Linked DNA regions of Homo sapiens: all the other regions are linked to region 2. Evidence: promoter capture Hi-C in human tissues and cell types (Jung and others, 2019). All regions are on one chromosome and are shown on one strand. The core of a region is centred on a gene start or on the middle of the fragment in contact, and the rest is flanking DNA. Distances in the headings are between cores, read along the strand shown. Region 1 overlaps PRKCE (protein kinase C epsilon). Region 2 holds the start of PRKCE (protein kinase C epsilon). Region 3 overlaps PRKCE (protein kinase C epsilon).

What was found. Contacts are between HindIII fragments. The study calls those that stand out against the background at their distance.
Region 1: a fragment that was not itself captured here is called in contact with the fragment with the promoter of PRKCE in region 2 in 2 of the 25 tissues and cell types used here (dorsolateral prefrontal cortex and liver).
Region 3: a contact is called between a fragment that was not itself captured here and the fragment with the promoter of PRKCE in region 2, in 1 of the 25 tissues and cell types used here (bladder).

Annotation. Positions count from the first base shown.
Region 1 is chr2:45,950,256-45,954,690 of GRCh38, reverse strand. All of the region lies in intron 2 of PRKCE (protein kinase C epsilon), which reads right to left. Among named protein-coding and RNA genes, the nearest start is that of PRKCE-AS1, 280 kb to the right of the region's middle. The HindIII fragment of the contact is 8,884 bases long and covers 1-4,435 here.
Region 2 is chr2:45,648,844-45,653,265 of GRCh38, reverse strand. PRKCE (protein kinase C epsilon) reads right to left here and starts at 1,591. Exons shown (of 15, transcript NM_005400.3): 1 at 818-1,591. The coding sequence starts at 1,165. LOC102724965 (a long non-coding RNA gene) reads left to right here and starts at 2,051. Exons shown (of 2, transcript XR_005647119.2): 1 at 2,051-3,301; 2 at 3,883-4,422. RefSeq lists enhancers at 913-1,533, 2,022-2,316 and silencers at 1,692-2,161, 2,332-2,431, 3,062-3,161. The HindIII fragment of the contact is 9,634 bases long and covers 1-4,422 here.
Region 3 is chr2:46,047,510-46,052,017 of GRCh38, reverse strand. The region is part of intron 10 of PRKCE (protein kinase C epsilon); the gene reads right to left. Among named protein-coding and RNA genes, the nearest start is that of EPAS1, 250 kb to the left of the region's middle. The HindIII fragment of the contact is 4,547 bases long and covers 1-3,554 here.

The DNA.
Region 1 (4,435 bases), core at 1,141-3,640, 300 kb before region 2:
CATGATAGCACATTGAAATGAGGTTCTCCCCCTTTGTTTAAACACTAATCAAACAAATTCTATACATTACTTTTCTCTTGTAGAAGTCTGGCCAAGCATCTTGAGTTAATATGTACCCTCTATGAATGTTTCCTATTTTCATGCATGCTTATGTTTAAATTAGATAGGCCAATTTAATTAGTCTTTTAATCCTGCAGAACAGTGATGCAAGACCCTCATGCTGGGCTGATGTCATCCTATTCAGAGTCTCATATCACATTTCCTTACATGTTCTTTGCTTATTTTACAATAAAGGGTTAATGGATGATGCAATATTGATAAGGAACTTACAATTTGATCACAAGAAAATTGTCTGCTCTTCAGAAATTTTCTACCTGGCCTCTAAATTCTTTTGACTCCAATATTTAGTGATAAGGAAGCCATTAGCTGTCATTTGGCTTGGGTATACAGACTTATTTCAGTAATACACAGGCACACGTTTGTGAACAATTTTGAGAACTGTTTTCCTTGCCAAGATTCACTAGGGCCACACAAAGTCCCTGCGCACCTAAGGCCACCTTCAAAGTGGGAGCAGGACCAAGGAGATTTGTTTTATTCCAAGAACTGGCCAGTAGATTTATAGAAAATGACATTTGAAAGTCTTTTTAAATTTTGTAATAGGCAAAGGCACTGGCACTAGATAAGATTGCAGTAGGGAAGGGCAGCTTATGTTGTCTTAGGAAAATAGACAGCTTTTGTGAATCCATTCACTTCTGTGAAAATTTGACTTCCTCTGTGCTTTGCCTACATCAACTGGTAATTTAGGTCCAGGAGGTACACGAAAATAATTAGGACTAATATTGCACAACACGGGCTCTCAACTCTGCCTGCAGGTTAAACTCACCTGGAGAGTGCTGAGAAAGCCAGCGCCTGTGGCCCACCACAGACAACTGAATCACAATCTCTTCGGGGGGAGCCCAGGCACTGGTACTTTTCTTAAAGCTCACAAGGGGATTCTAATGTGCAGCCAGTGTTTAAAGCAGTGACAGCAAGAGTGGATGGGGGCGCAATTAAAAAGTAGGAGAGGCATCGAGGGACAACCGCACTGATCAAGCCGGTGACTTTCTGACTCAGCAGTGACACTGAATGAGTGTTTTGGGTTCAATGTCATTTTTTAGTTTAGGGCACAGCCCACGGTTGGGTATTCCAGGAGAGGTGTTCCAGAGGAGGGGAAAGGGAGCGGTAGCTGGCTGTTCAGGGAGAGGGAAGGGAGGAAGAGAGAGAGCAAGGAGGATGTTCTATCCAAATTGAAAAGCGTATGAAAAGTGCCCTGGGCAGGGAGTCCAGTAATGGAGAATCGTCTTGGCTCTGACATATGTCACAACCAAATATGTGACCCGTGGGTAGGTCATTTCTCTTGCCTTGGCCTCATCTTCCCCAAGACAAAATTACATGGGATGGTTCATGTTTTTCAAGTTCCTTCTGGTTCTGAGATCCTCTAGGTATGTTCCATCAAAAGTACTGGGGCATTACAGATGCATTTGCCTGGACCACCTGGCCATGGGGAAGGGGGTTCAGAACTGTGTTCACCTCCCAGGTAATCCGGGGCAAATGCTAAAACTTGAAAACAGATCTAGAGTTATTTCAGAATTACTATTATTTAAGCATTTCATTATCTCAAACACTACTCAGTAATGTCAAGAAAGGCAACGGGCTTGACCTCCCTGTCCATAAAATGAGATGTCAGGGTGAACTCAGCCTACCGCTTAAGACAAATCCTCATACTGTGATCTATAGTTTTATTTGGCTGCTGTGTTTCGTGCTGTTAATTTATAAGCTCGTTGAAAAGAGACACTGGTTGTCTAATAGACTTTTAATGTGACATGGCACATAATAGCCTAAACAAAGCACATTCAGTGTTCCTACTTTTTCTATAAAAAGTTGTGTTCCTGGAAAGCTGCATGTCAATGGCCCTCCCATCAATCAAAACCAATTTTAAATGTACAGTACATTAAGTACATTAAGTGCTATATAAGGGAATCCTGTGGTGAGTGCTTTTGAAGAGCGACTACATTTTTTGGAAATGCTAATAATTACATCTTAATTCAACTGTTTGGTAAATCTAAACTTTTAACATAGCAATTTCAACGTAAAATAGGGGTTGCTTTATGTTCCTTTAATTTGAACCATTAGTTAACAAGGGAGCCTGAAGTATTTTATAATAAATTCTGCGTGTAGTCCATGTTCCTTTAGAATGTATACTTCCAGCAAAAGGAGGGGTGTTTTATTGGTTTAAAATTCAGGGTGCTTCTGTGTGTTAAGCCCATGAGAGAGAGAGAACAAGAACAGCCCAGCATAGTGATGACTTATGTACGCTTGCGAGGCCCAGGGGCAGCATGGTGTAATGAAATGTGTATATCATTATAACTTTGGGGCCTGGGCTCTTTTGCCGACCACCACCTAGTTGGGTGAGTCCCTTTCCTTCTCTGGGCTTCAGTTGTTTATCTATGTGATGGAAAAATCAGACTAGGTGATAGGTCTAACATTCTAGGAGTCAGGCTCTTTTAAGAGTCTGAATCAACTGGGCACAGTGGCTCATGCCTGTGATCCCAGCACTTTGGGAGGCCGAGGCGGGTAGATCACTTGACGCCAGGAGTTGAAGACCAGCCTGGCCAACATGATGAAACTCCGTCTCTATTAAAAATGCAAAAGTTAGCTGGATGTGGTGGCACATGCCTGTAATCCCAGCTACTCAGGAGGCTGAGGCATGAGAATAGCTTGAACCCAGGAGGCAGAGTTTGCAGTGAGCCAAGATGGCGCCCCTGTGCTCCAGCCTGGGCGACAGAGCAAGACTCCGTCTCAAAAAACAAAACAAAACAAAACAAAAGAGTCTGAGAGTCTGGATCAACTGAGTTTGTCACATTTTACAGTCTTAAACCACTCACTCGTGCTTTGATCCAGCTTGGCACAAACTCAGAGGATGAGGTGTGGAAGAACCAGACTCATTGTATGTGGTTGTGTACAAAAGTGCTCAGCCTTTGCTACATTTGCCTCCAGCACAGAGTTGCATTGGCTCAGCTGGGGCCCTCATTTTGTGAGATGCTGCATTGGTCCTAGGGAGAGCGGCACCTTTAAACCTAGAGGAAGCAGAGCACGTATCTTGTGGTTAACATCTAAGTGTGGCCCCAAGCCAAAAGGGCTGTCTTTCTGGGCCCAGAGAAGCCTTGACTCAGGAGTGGGGGCCATGGACACATACATACTGCCTAGTCTCAGTGAGGAAGTCAGAGTTAGGGAGGAATTATGAAAGCCCAAAGACTTGCAAGACAGAGGGACCTACCTGGCATGACTGACTGGAAACACGACTTCCTCGACAGTCTGTATGAAGCTGTTTCCCAGAGGACTGGGTTCCTCCTTAGAGCCTTAGGTTAAAGTTGTCTAAAGCAGTGGTTCCCAATCTGGGCTACTTACCAGAATCACCTGGGAAGCTAGTGAAGCCATAAACTCCAGAGCCACTCCCCAATTCCACTGGGTGAGGCTTGAAAATCTGTAACTTTAATCAACTCCCCAGGAAATCTTTTGCAGCCAGAGCAGCACCGGATAACACGATAGTGTTTGAACACTGGCTTTACAGTGATGGTTTGGGCACCGAGCATTAAGCTGTGGGCAGGATTGTAGTGCAATTCACAGTCATGACTGGGGATGTACAAGGACACTATTTGGAGCTTTTGTCTTGGTGGCCAAGTGAACATGATCTCAGATCGGGAGCCACCAAGTGGGCAGAGATAAGTCAAAGAAATGAGGCTGATAGTTCCAGGACTTAATTAGAGGAGCCAGTTCTGAGAGGTCCTCTAGGAAAGTTGGTCCTCTAGGAACACCAGTACTCCCTCTTGTCCACCAGCTGCTGTTGCTGTCCCCAAGCACTTCTCACCTTGAGCCAACGGAAGTGTGAACAACAGACACTTGGCAGACACAAGGGTGGATCTGCACCCCGCCCCTTGATATCCATCTCTCGCTTTGCCCTCTGCGTGCTTGAAGTAACCTTTTTCACTCCATGGCTTATTAGACACTTGGCCTGGGCATCATCAAACCAGGCATCTTGTAATCCCAGGGGAAACTGGGGCACAGTCGAGCATAAACCCTGGTAATGACCTTGAAGTTATTTTCTCCTCATCCAGCCAGAGTTCCTCATGCAAATGTGCTGTGACATCTTTATCTGCCATCCTCAAAATTAGAATGTGAGAAGCAGAAATAAATTAACTCAGTGTAACTGAAATTCTGCCAGAAAATTTCATTTAAAGCTTTTCATAAGAAGAAGTGGGAATAAAATGCATTCTCCTAAAGACCAGAGATTGGCTGATGTCCCATGATGGGGTAATAAATGGTCTGGTGTATAAAGCAGTGATCTGTTTTTACTCCTAGTGTTAAAACTAAGCATTCATTTTTGGTAAATATATTG
Region 2 (4,422 bases), core at 342-2,841:
TCTTTCCAAATCCTTAATAGTTTAATAATGGAATCAATTAACAACTCAATCTCATACTTAGAAATCGTCTTTTATTGCACAGTATCTTGACAATCAAAACAGAGAAACAATATAACTTTAAATAAGATTCAAAGCACTGACTTCCAATTACCCACAAGCAGAACCCTTCTTAAAATGCAACATTCATTCTGCATGGATGGGCAATGAATTGGACAAAACAAGCTCGACTGATGTTTCTGGGACCATAGAGGAGACATCCTGGAGGAGAACACATTTTTTCTACTTGTATGTCAGAAGATGAGCTAACCACCATGCAAGAGAATAGAAACAAGCCAGCTTCCTCTCGGAGGGAAAAATAAAGCAACTCCTCGCTCGGCTAAGCAGGACAAAGCCAGGACGTGCAAGAAGCCTTCAGTCAAAGGCTCCACGTGCCTTTCCAAGGACGGAGGGACCCACCCACACACAATCACACACAGCCAGCCCACCACGCGCCTGCGGAAGAAAGCCGGGTCCTCGGCCAACCTTCAGCACCAGTGGCCCAGGCTCTCCCAGTTTGCAAACCTCCCGCAGCACCCACCAACTGGAGGGCACAGAGGGAGCAGAGGGCCACATCCTCTTTCCAAGTCTCATCTTCCTCGCCAATGCCTGTTTCTCCCCAACTATGAAGTGAAGTGTACCTCCCCAAGGAAACTGAGACTTACAGGCACACACACCCCAGTCGTCAATAAGTCCCGGAGCCCTACGATCAAGACCAGCGAGTCTTTCCCCGGGACCCCACAACCGGGTTCCCGGAATGACGGGGAGGCGCCGCACTCACCCAGTCCTCGAAGTGGCGGCTCCCGTTCTGCAGCAGCTCCTCAAACTGGATGGTGCAGTTGGCCACGAAGTCGTCGTAGCCTATGGGGGCATCGTGAAAGACAGCCAGCTCGATCTTGCGTCCGTTGCACACATCGGTGACGAACTCGTCGTGCCAGGCCGGGCTGTTGGTCTTCTGCTTGGTGGCCGTTTGGCCGATGCGCGAGTCGTCCACATTGAGGGCAATGTAGGGGTCGAGAAGGAAAGTCTGCGGCCGGGGTCCCACCGCATGGCGCAGCGACCAGGCTGTGGGCTTCAAGCTCACGGCCTCGCAGATTTTGATCTTAAGAAGGCCATTGAACACTACCATGGTCGGGGCGGGGAGTGGGGGCCGGGGTCACTCCGTCTGCCCCGAGGGCAGGAATGAAGAACCGACGGCCCGGCACTCCGAGCCACAGGGACTCTTGGGTCCCCTTTCGCCCCACCCCGCACACTCCCTACACCTTGTGGCGTTGCGCCCTGGCGCGGGCGATTCTCAGCCAGTGCATGTATTTCCTCGCCGGGTTCCTAACGGAAAACAGGGAGGGGGGAGAGCTGGGGGATGTCCGTGTTTGGAGCAAGTCTCTCCCCCCGACCACCAGCTGCACCTCCAGAAGAGAAGACGAGCTGTCGGCTCCGCTGCAAGCCGCGGGGGCTGCCTCGCCGCCTCGCTGGCTCTCCGGCTCCGGACTGCGGGAAAGCGGGCGCCGCGCCCGGCGCTTACCTACCTTTCCGAAACATAATCCCGGGAAATTTCGACTCCGGGAGGGGGATGGGGCGGTGGGACGGGGCGGGGACGAGAACCGGGGGCGCAGATTTCAACCCGGATCCTCTTCGCACACTCAGCGCCTGCCTCTGACCGCGCGGGGCGGGGGGGTGAACGGAGGGATGTTCAGTCTATCCGGAGGGATGCATGTCGAGAGGAAATGGTCCTCCTCGGAGCCAAATTTTTAAAAATCCACAAGCCCCACGGCCAGCCGGGGCCGCCGCCTCCTGGGCGAAGCAGCGCCGCGCCGGAGCCGGCGATCGGGAGGCGCCAGGAGCCCGGAATCTCACATCCGCGCGGGCTCGGAGTCCGGGCGGCCGCCGATCCGGCTCGGGGGCGCAGGCCAGCACCGGGCGGTGCGCAGCGCGGCGGCGGGGCAGGGACTGCGACTCAGCGCGGCCCCACCTCCTGGGCGCCGGCGCCCGCCCTCCGCGCTCCCCGCGTCCCCGCTCTCGGCTGCCGCTCGCTCGCCGCCCGCCAGCCCGCGCTCCCCCGCGGTCTCCTCTCCCTCTGTCGGTGTGCGAGCGAGTCTCCCTCCCTCTAATGCAGGAAATGCGCAAAAGACGTCAGTGTGTGTGAGTGTGTGTGTGTGAGTGTGTGTGTGTGCACGCGCGCGCGCGCACGGCAGTGTTTGGGGAAATAGAAAGTTTTGCCGGTTGGGGGAGCAATACGGAAAAAGTGAGCCGAGGAGACAACGGTGGAGAGCTGGCGAGGCTGCCCGGGGTCGCAGCGGCGGGCGGGTCAGCCGGGGGGCGGGGACCCCGCGCGGGACCCCGGGGTGCGGCGGCGCTGGGCTGGATGCGCGTGCCGGGGGCCGTGGATGGCCATGGATGGGCCCCGCCGGGCCGCGTATCTCTCGGGGACCCTGCGGCCAACACTGTCTTTTAGAGCCGGGGATGGGGGAGTGGAGGGGGCCCTGTTGCCCTAGAGGCCTCGGGACCCTTCCCTTGCCCACCCCCACTCGGGCCGCGGCGGGCAGGAGCAGTCTGCGGAGTTCTGGCCCATCTGTCACTCTGTCCCGGGACGCTGTGATCCACGGCGGTGGGGGAGGGGGAAGGGGGAGGGACAAGCATGGCTCGGGTGAAGTTTTAAACTCTGTTCTTCTCTCTTGCCTTTCTTTGGGGACATTCTCCCCTTTGGGATCTGTCCTGGACTTCGCAGGCTGCGAGAACTTGTTGACAAGTGAAAGCTCGGTAGAGCCCCGGCTTGGTTTGTGGTCTGCTTATTTTTTGCAAAGTGACTGTTCCTGTTTGCGCTGGTCCTTATCGGTGCCCCTTTGGGGGACTTCGGCACTGATCAGCGCGCTGACAGCCGCCGTCCGGGCTGCGGGAAAATGGGGCGCGCCCTCCGGGGGGCGAGTGGCTGTGTCCTTGCTAATTTCCTCCGTAACCTTTAAACTCTCGCTGGAAGCTACCGCCGCGGCTGGTCACGTGAGGAGAGCCCTGGGCTGCTGGGGAAAAATTTCCTCGGCTGGGAGCCGGGACCGGGCCGGCGGCCGGCGAGGGACTGCCCCGCGCCCGAGACTGGGAACCTGGGAGGGCAGGGCCGGAGCGCTGGGCCCCGGGGCGCGGCCCAGCTGGGACACCCGCGAAGACGGCGGCGGTGAAGAGGTCGGCTCCGCTGCCGGGGAGCTGGGGATTATGCAAATGGGGAAAGAAAACCTCCGCCCTCGCCCTTCTGCCAAGTCAAGTCTGGGAATTTGTAGGTATTGTGGTAAGCTGAGTGTTCATCTGGCGGGTCTGGTTAGTGTAAACCAAAATTTAAAACGCGCCTCCCGATCACTTTTTCCTCAGTGGGTAAAGGTTATCATTGCCTGCGGCTTAAAAGCCTAAAAAGGCTTAAAGGCGAGGAAGGAGGCAGTCCCCTGGAAAAACAGGATATCAAGTGCAGCAAACACGTCCCAAAAATGATCCGAAAAGTTCTAGGGCCATCTCCTAAGAACAGGCAAAGCCTTTGCCTGCAACCGCTCTGGAGCTTCCTAATACAGTAATTTCTCGCAGCCTGCCCTGTTGAACAGGGCAGCTGGGTAGAGATGGTGCTAAGATTCAGTCTTCCGTATGATCTAGGTAGCTCCGATGTAAAAAGCCAGGATTTCAATGGTTGTCTTACCCTGTCACTCCCCCAGCTGGAGATACGATATCTTAAAATATGTCCGTTTGACAAAGCACAAGCAGGGGTATCTCATTGCTGTTTAATTTTTATTTCTTTGATTATTACTTTTTTCCCTTTTGCTTCTTCCTTCCACTCTGCTATTCTCATGAAGCCTCTTTCCCCCTTTCCAGGGCATGTGATGGAAGGCAGTGGCAAATATGGCTTGATCTTCTGAAAATGCATTTGGGAAGCAGAGCCAGCACCAAAGTGAGATGAGTGAGATACTTTTCAGAGGCAAAATGTAAAGGGTACCAATAAACGTAATCAAGATAAAGATTTAATACAATTTTTTAAAAATAAAAATGTGAGAATCCAGAATGGACACAATATCCACATTTTAAATAATTTTAAATATTGCACTAAAATATTTATACTACTGAGTTTATTGGCACCTGTTAAATTTTGTACCTGAGCCGAGTGCGTCACTCATCTCACCCTAGTCCTGATCCTGTTGGGAAGTCTGGAAAGTCAAGGATTTCATGGAGTTAGGGATCCTTGACTAATTGGTGCTTCATATGTTCTCATTACTTGCTTTGGGTAAGTCTTGTACAGGCAGGAGCCACCATGCCCAGCCCCCAAATATATTAAATAGGGTCTGTTACCATCTCAGTGACTGTCTTAAAACAACCTACAAACTTCCAGCACCATTTCCTAGCATGCTGGCTCAGCAG
Region 3 (4,508 bases), core at 32-2,531, 400 kb before region 2:
TGATGGAGGAACCAGGTGGGAGGGGACTGGATCATGGGGGCGGTTTTCCCCATGCTGTTCTTGTGATAGTGACTTCTCACGAGATCTGATGGCTTCATAAGGCAGTTTTCCCTGCTCTCGTGCACTTCTTCTCTCTCTGCTGCCCTCTGAAGAGGTGCCTTCCGCCATGATTGTAACTTTCCTGAAGCGTCCCCAGCCGCGTGGAACTTTGAGACAATTAAACCTCTTTTCTTTATAAATTACCCAGTCTCAGGTACTTCTTTATAGCGGTGTGAGAACAGACTAATATAGCATCATTGAGGATTTGTTTCTCACTTTATTTCACTAAGGTAAAAACAGCAGGGGGAATAAAGTAGAGAAAACAATACCTGTAAGTGGAAAAGCCCCAAAGAAAATAGGAAATGGCCCATGAACAACTGAGATGCAGCATGCCTTCAAAGCGGGTGCTAGATTCAGGAAATGTCTTCCAGGTTCCCCAAAGGAGAGCAGAGCCACCTTAAAATCAGCAGCTTGGGAGAAGAATGGCAAGGGCACTCTCTTGCACCAGGGAGATCAGCTGTGCCATGTGCCATATAACTTCTTTGAACCTCAGTTTCCTCATCTGTTTAAGTGAGAAAATCACATTTGCCCTACCCACAGCTCCCCACCTTCACAGTCACAGATCAGAGAGAAGGTGACAGCATGTGTATGGTGCACTGAGGCATGTGGACAGCTTCTTGCCACCAGAAACCACCAGCCCAGGGGCCCACTACCCAGGCTACCACTTGTGGTGCTCTGGGAAGGTCAGATTTCAACATTAAATAACATGAGCTGAAAGTTGAAGGAGTTTTGAGACTTGCAGTGGGAAAGAGGATTTGTTATCAGCTTACTCTTGCGGGAGGAACTGAAGTCATCTCAGTAGTTATTTGTGGCTTGACTATGAAAGCAGAATCCATGGAGGAAGCTAATTCCTCTCACCTGACACGATGCACATATTGTCTTTCTTCTTCCTTTCCCTCTCTCATTTGGGGGTGAGGGAGTGGGAGAGATAAAGGAAGTGATGACAGTGAGGTGAAGTGAAAGGAAGGGAGGACCACAAAGAACTGGGCCTTTTAAGACTCCTCAGGTGATGGCTTCAGAGATGTTTCTGCCCATTGTGGGCACTGAGAAAGACCATGATTTCTTTTCTAGAAAAGAGTGAGACTTTGACAAGAATGAAGGAAATGAGAGAAGATGCCTCCAAATGTGTTGGCTTGCTCCTAAATTATTCCCAGGACGTGGCTGGGGGGGAAAAAAGAAATCAAAGGTCCATCAAGTCATGCTCTTTGCAGGCCACAGGTGGCAGTGTCCTGAAATTGTCCCAGATACCTTTACCTTTAGAACCTCATTAAGGGGCCAGTGCTGGCTGGGAAGGCAGGACAGAGCGGGAAACAGAAACCTTTCTTCCTTCCCACCCCACAAGGTCACAGCTAATATTTTATAATCCATTCAGCTCACAAGGGAGGGACAAGGAGAGAGAAGAGGTGTGGAAGGCAGGAAAGGAAGCCAAAAGACTAGAAATAATGTTTTCTCTCCACTGCAACCCACATGGCTTAAACCCATTAAACTCCAAGGTGATTACAGAAATTAGACACCTTTTAACGAGCGGAACACTGGAGCCTAGGTGTGCCATGCACAGGCATGCAGGGACGGCTCGGCAAATAAACCCTGACAGCTTCTCACGGCTCAGGGATTAGAAGGAAGCCTGTTTACTTACATTTCATAAACTCTACCATCACAAAGGGCTCATAAGAAATTACCAGTGCTCGAGTCTTGGCAGCAGTGCCTTTGTCCAGCTTTGGCCTTTTTCTTGTGAACGGTAAATGTGATTTCAGGGAAATGACTTCAGAGATCTGGGAATGTGCATCACAGGCCATGAGCCCAGCTAAGCCACCCTACCCCTGGGGACCAGGCAGCAGGGCGGGCAATGGGAGCCAGTGGAGGGAGTGCCAAGCCTCCAATTCTGCAAGAACTTTAGGTTTCCCCATCAGTCGGTGGGCCCAGCTTTTACCCCCAGCCTTCTACACTGGCCATGGTGACCATGCTGGGGGTACCTCTCAGAGGACTCACCAGGACCAGTACTGTGTTGGATTTGATGGACAGAAGGACCTGCCTCGGGTTTGCCTCAGGGTCTTAGTCAAGATGGGAAAATGTAAATTACATGAAATCAACTGCAGAACACAAAATGGTGTATCAGAAAGAGCTAAACTGATGTGTAACACAAGGAACTGGGCAGAAGGAAACGCATGATGGGAAACTGAGGCAGGCTTTCTAGAAGAGGTGGGATTTACGAGAATGCAGAGTGGAAAGCAGAGGGAAGCCCCTCTGGTGACCTTCATGAATTCAAGTGAGAATATTTTCCCACAGCTACAAGGATACTAGAAGGTATTTCCTGCAGCGGGTATTACACCTGCAGCTGCTTCCCCCTTGACCAGAGTCTGCTTAGGAACAATCAGGCAGAAACTACCTTGGCTGCCCAAGGGCTGGACTCCAGTCTAGGCTCACAGTTAATTGCAAGATGTGCGTGTAAAGGGCTTTGCACCAACTGGGATAGGTTGTCCCATCTCCTGTTGCCCTATCTCAGGCCACTTTAAGTCAATAGAAGCTTAAAGTATCTGTGGGCATGAGAGAGAGCTGGGCTATGTGCATTGTCAGGACTGGGAAGAAACCAGGGCAGCACTAATCCAGTGAGGTGGGGGCTTCTATCAGGCTGTAAGCCCACTCGGCAATACTGACAGGTGGGAAGCTTCTAAGCAGAAACCCTGAGGTCCCTGGAAACCATCAAATAGGATGAGGGTTGCGCTAAGGAAACGTCTAGGAAAAATGGGCCCGGACAATCTTGCCCCAAGCTCAGTCAAGAAGGGGAAAGACAGACCTTGTATCTCCTTCCTGCCTTTCAATTCTGACTATGAAGGTAAGAGACATCACGGGACTCCAAGGAAGGCCCTGGGACTCTAGACTACAGAGAAGAGCCTAACTAAATTGCTTATAAAAGTTTTTTGGAGTTCCTCCTGTGTAGGTCAGATGGAGGCATTACTGGCGAGTCTCTACACTCCAGGCCAACTATTACAACACATGACTGGTGCCCCATACAGAGCTATAGGAAAGTGCAGAGTGCATTCTGTCTGGGAAGGAGAAAGGAGGAGGGCAAGAGTCACACTGAGTTGAGTCCTGCAAGAGGAACAATATTTCCAGAGCTGGTGAAGGTTCTGAGCTCAATGACCTGGTGTCCTTTTGCATTTAAAGGCCAATGTATTTCCTACCCTAAGGAAAAGTTCACCTGTCAGACACTGGTTCACCCCTAAACAGAGAGAGAACTGGCCAGAACCCATAAGCAGAGTAGATCACTTCCAGCTATCATCCGTCTCCCCCTGGAGAAAGGCCAAGTGCGTGGACAAAGGGGAATCAAGGACCACTGGACAGACCCCGACACTGGGCACGTCCACCCCTCGGTGACAAGACCCGAGCACCTTGCTTAGAAAGTCATCTGCTCGGTAGGAGGCACTGGCAGAGGGGCTCTGGTGGGACATTGAGCCCAGTGAACCCCATATGGATCCCTGTTGGCTGTAAAGAATCTCTGGACATGGGAAATTGATGGGGGCTGGAATACAAAAGAACATGAAGATAGGACATTTCCATTTTGTTAATACCCTTGAGACTTTTCAATAGGCTGTAGCTGAAGCCTCAGGACAGTTCTGAGAATGAAGCTGGGAGGGAGTACTGTCTCCATGTCACAGATAAGGAAAATAAGGCTCAAAGAGATCATGTACCTGCCCTAAGGTCCTATGGCTAGTCAGAGAAAGAACAGAAAACAGAACTTAGTTCTCCTTTTCCCCTAAGTGCCCATAAGCAAGTCACTAAACCTTACTATGGAAGGGGCAGGGGGTGGGAGGGGTGGCAGGCAGGCTCATTTGTGGAGTCCTTGACACGCTGTTTAGAAGTAGGTGAGTTAAATTAAAATACACTGGTTTGATAACTATTGATGATAATTAATATGTGAGTTAGTCTTCCAATTTTCAAAGTACTTTTTACATTTAATGAGCTACCCAGCTGGTCCTTCTAAAGCCAAGGGAGAATTGCATTTTAAAACCAAATTCAATTTTCCAGGATTTTCTGGTACTTGACAGAAAACTTCCTGTATGCAAGTCAAAGGTTAGTAAGCAGTGGAAATGCTTTGATGGTATTTATTTTAAGCCAAGATATCCTCCCTATTGAAAAAATCTTTTTTCCAAGTATTCACTTTTGAGTTATGTAGCATTCTTACTAAAAAATAAATGAGTTAAGTAAATAAGGGGAGGGGAAATGGGAACCACTTTGATTTGAAGCTTTCAACAAATGACATTGTCCAGAGTGTGTCCTGATCAAATTCAGTGTTTTGAAATGCAGCTTTTCAAACATTCAATACCTAACATGTAACTAATAGGTTTGAGTTTTACCGTGATCTCCAACTCCTCAAGTTACACAGGATGTGCCAAGTAAAGGCCTCCTTC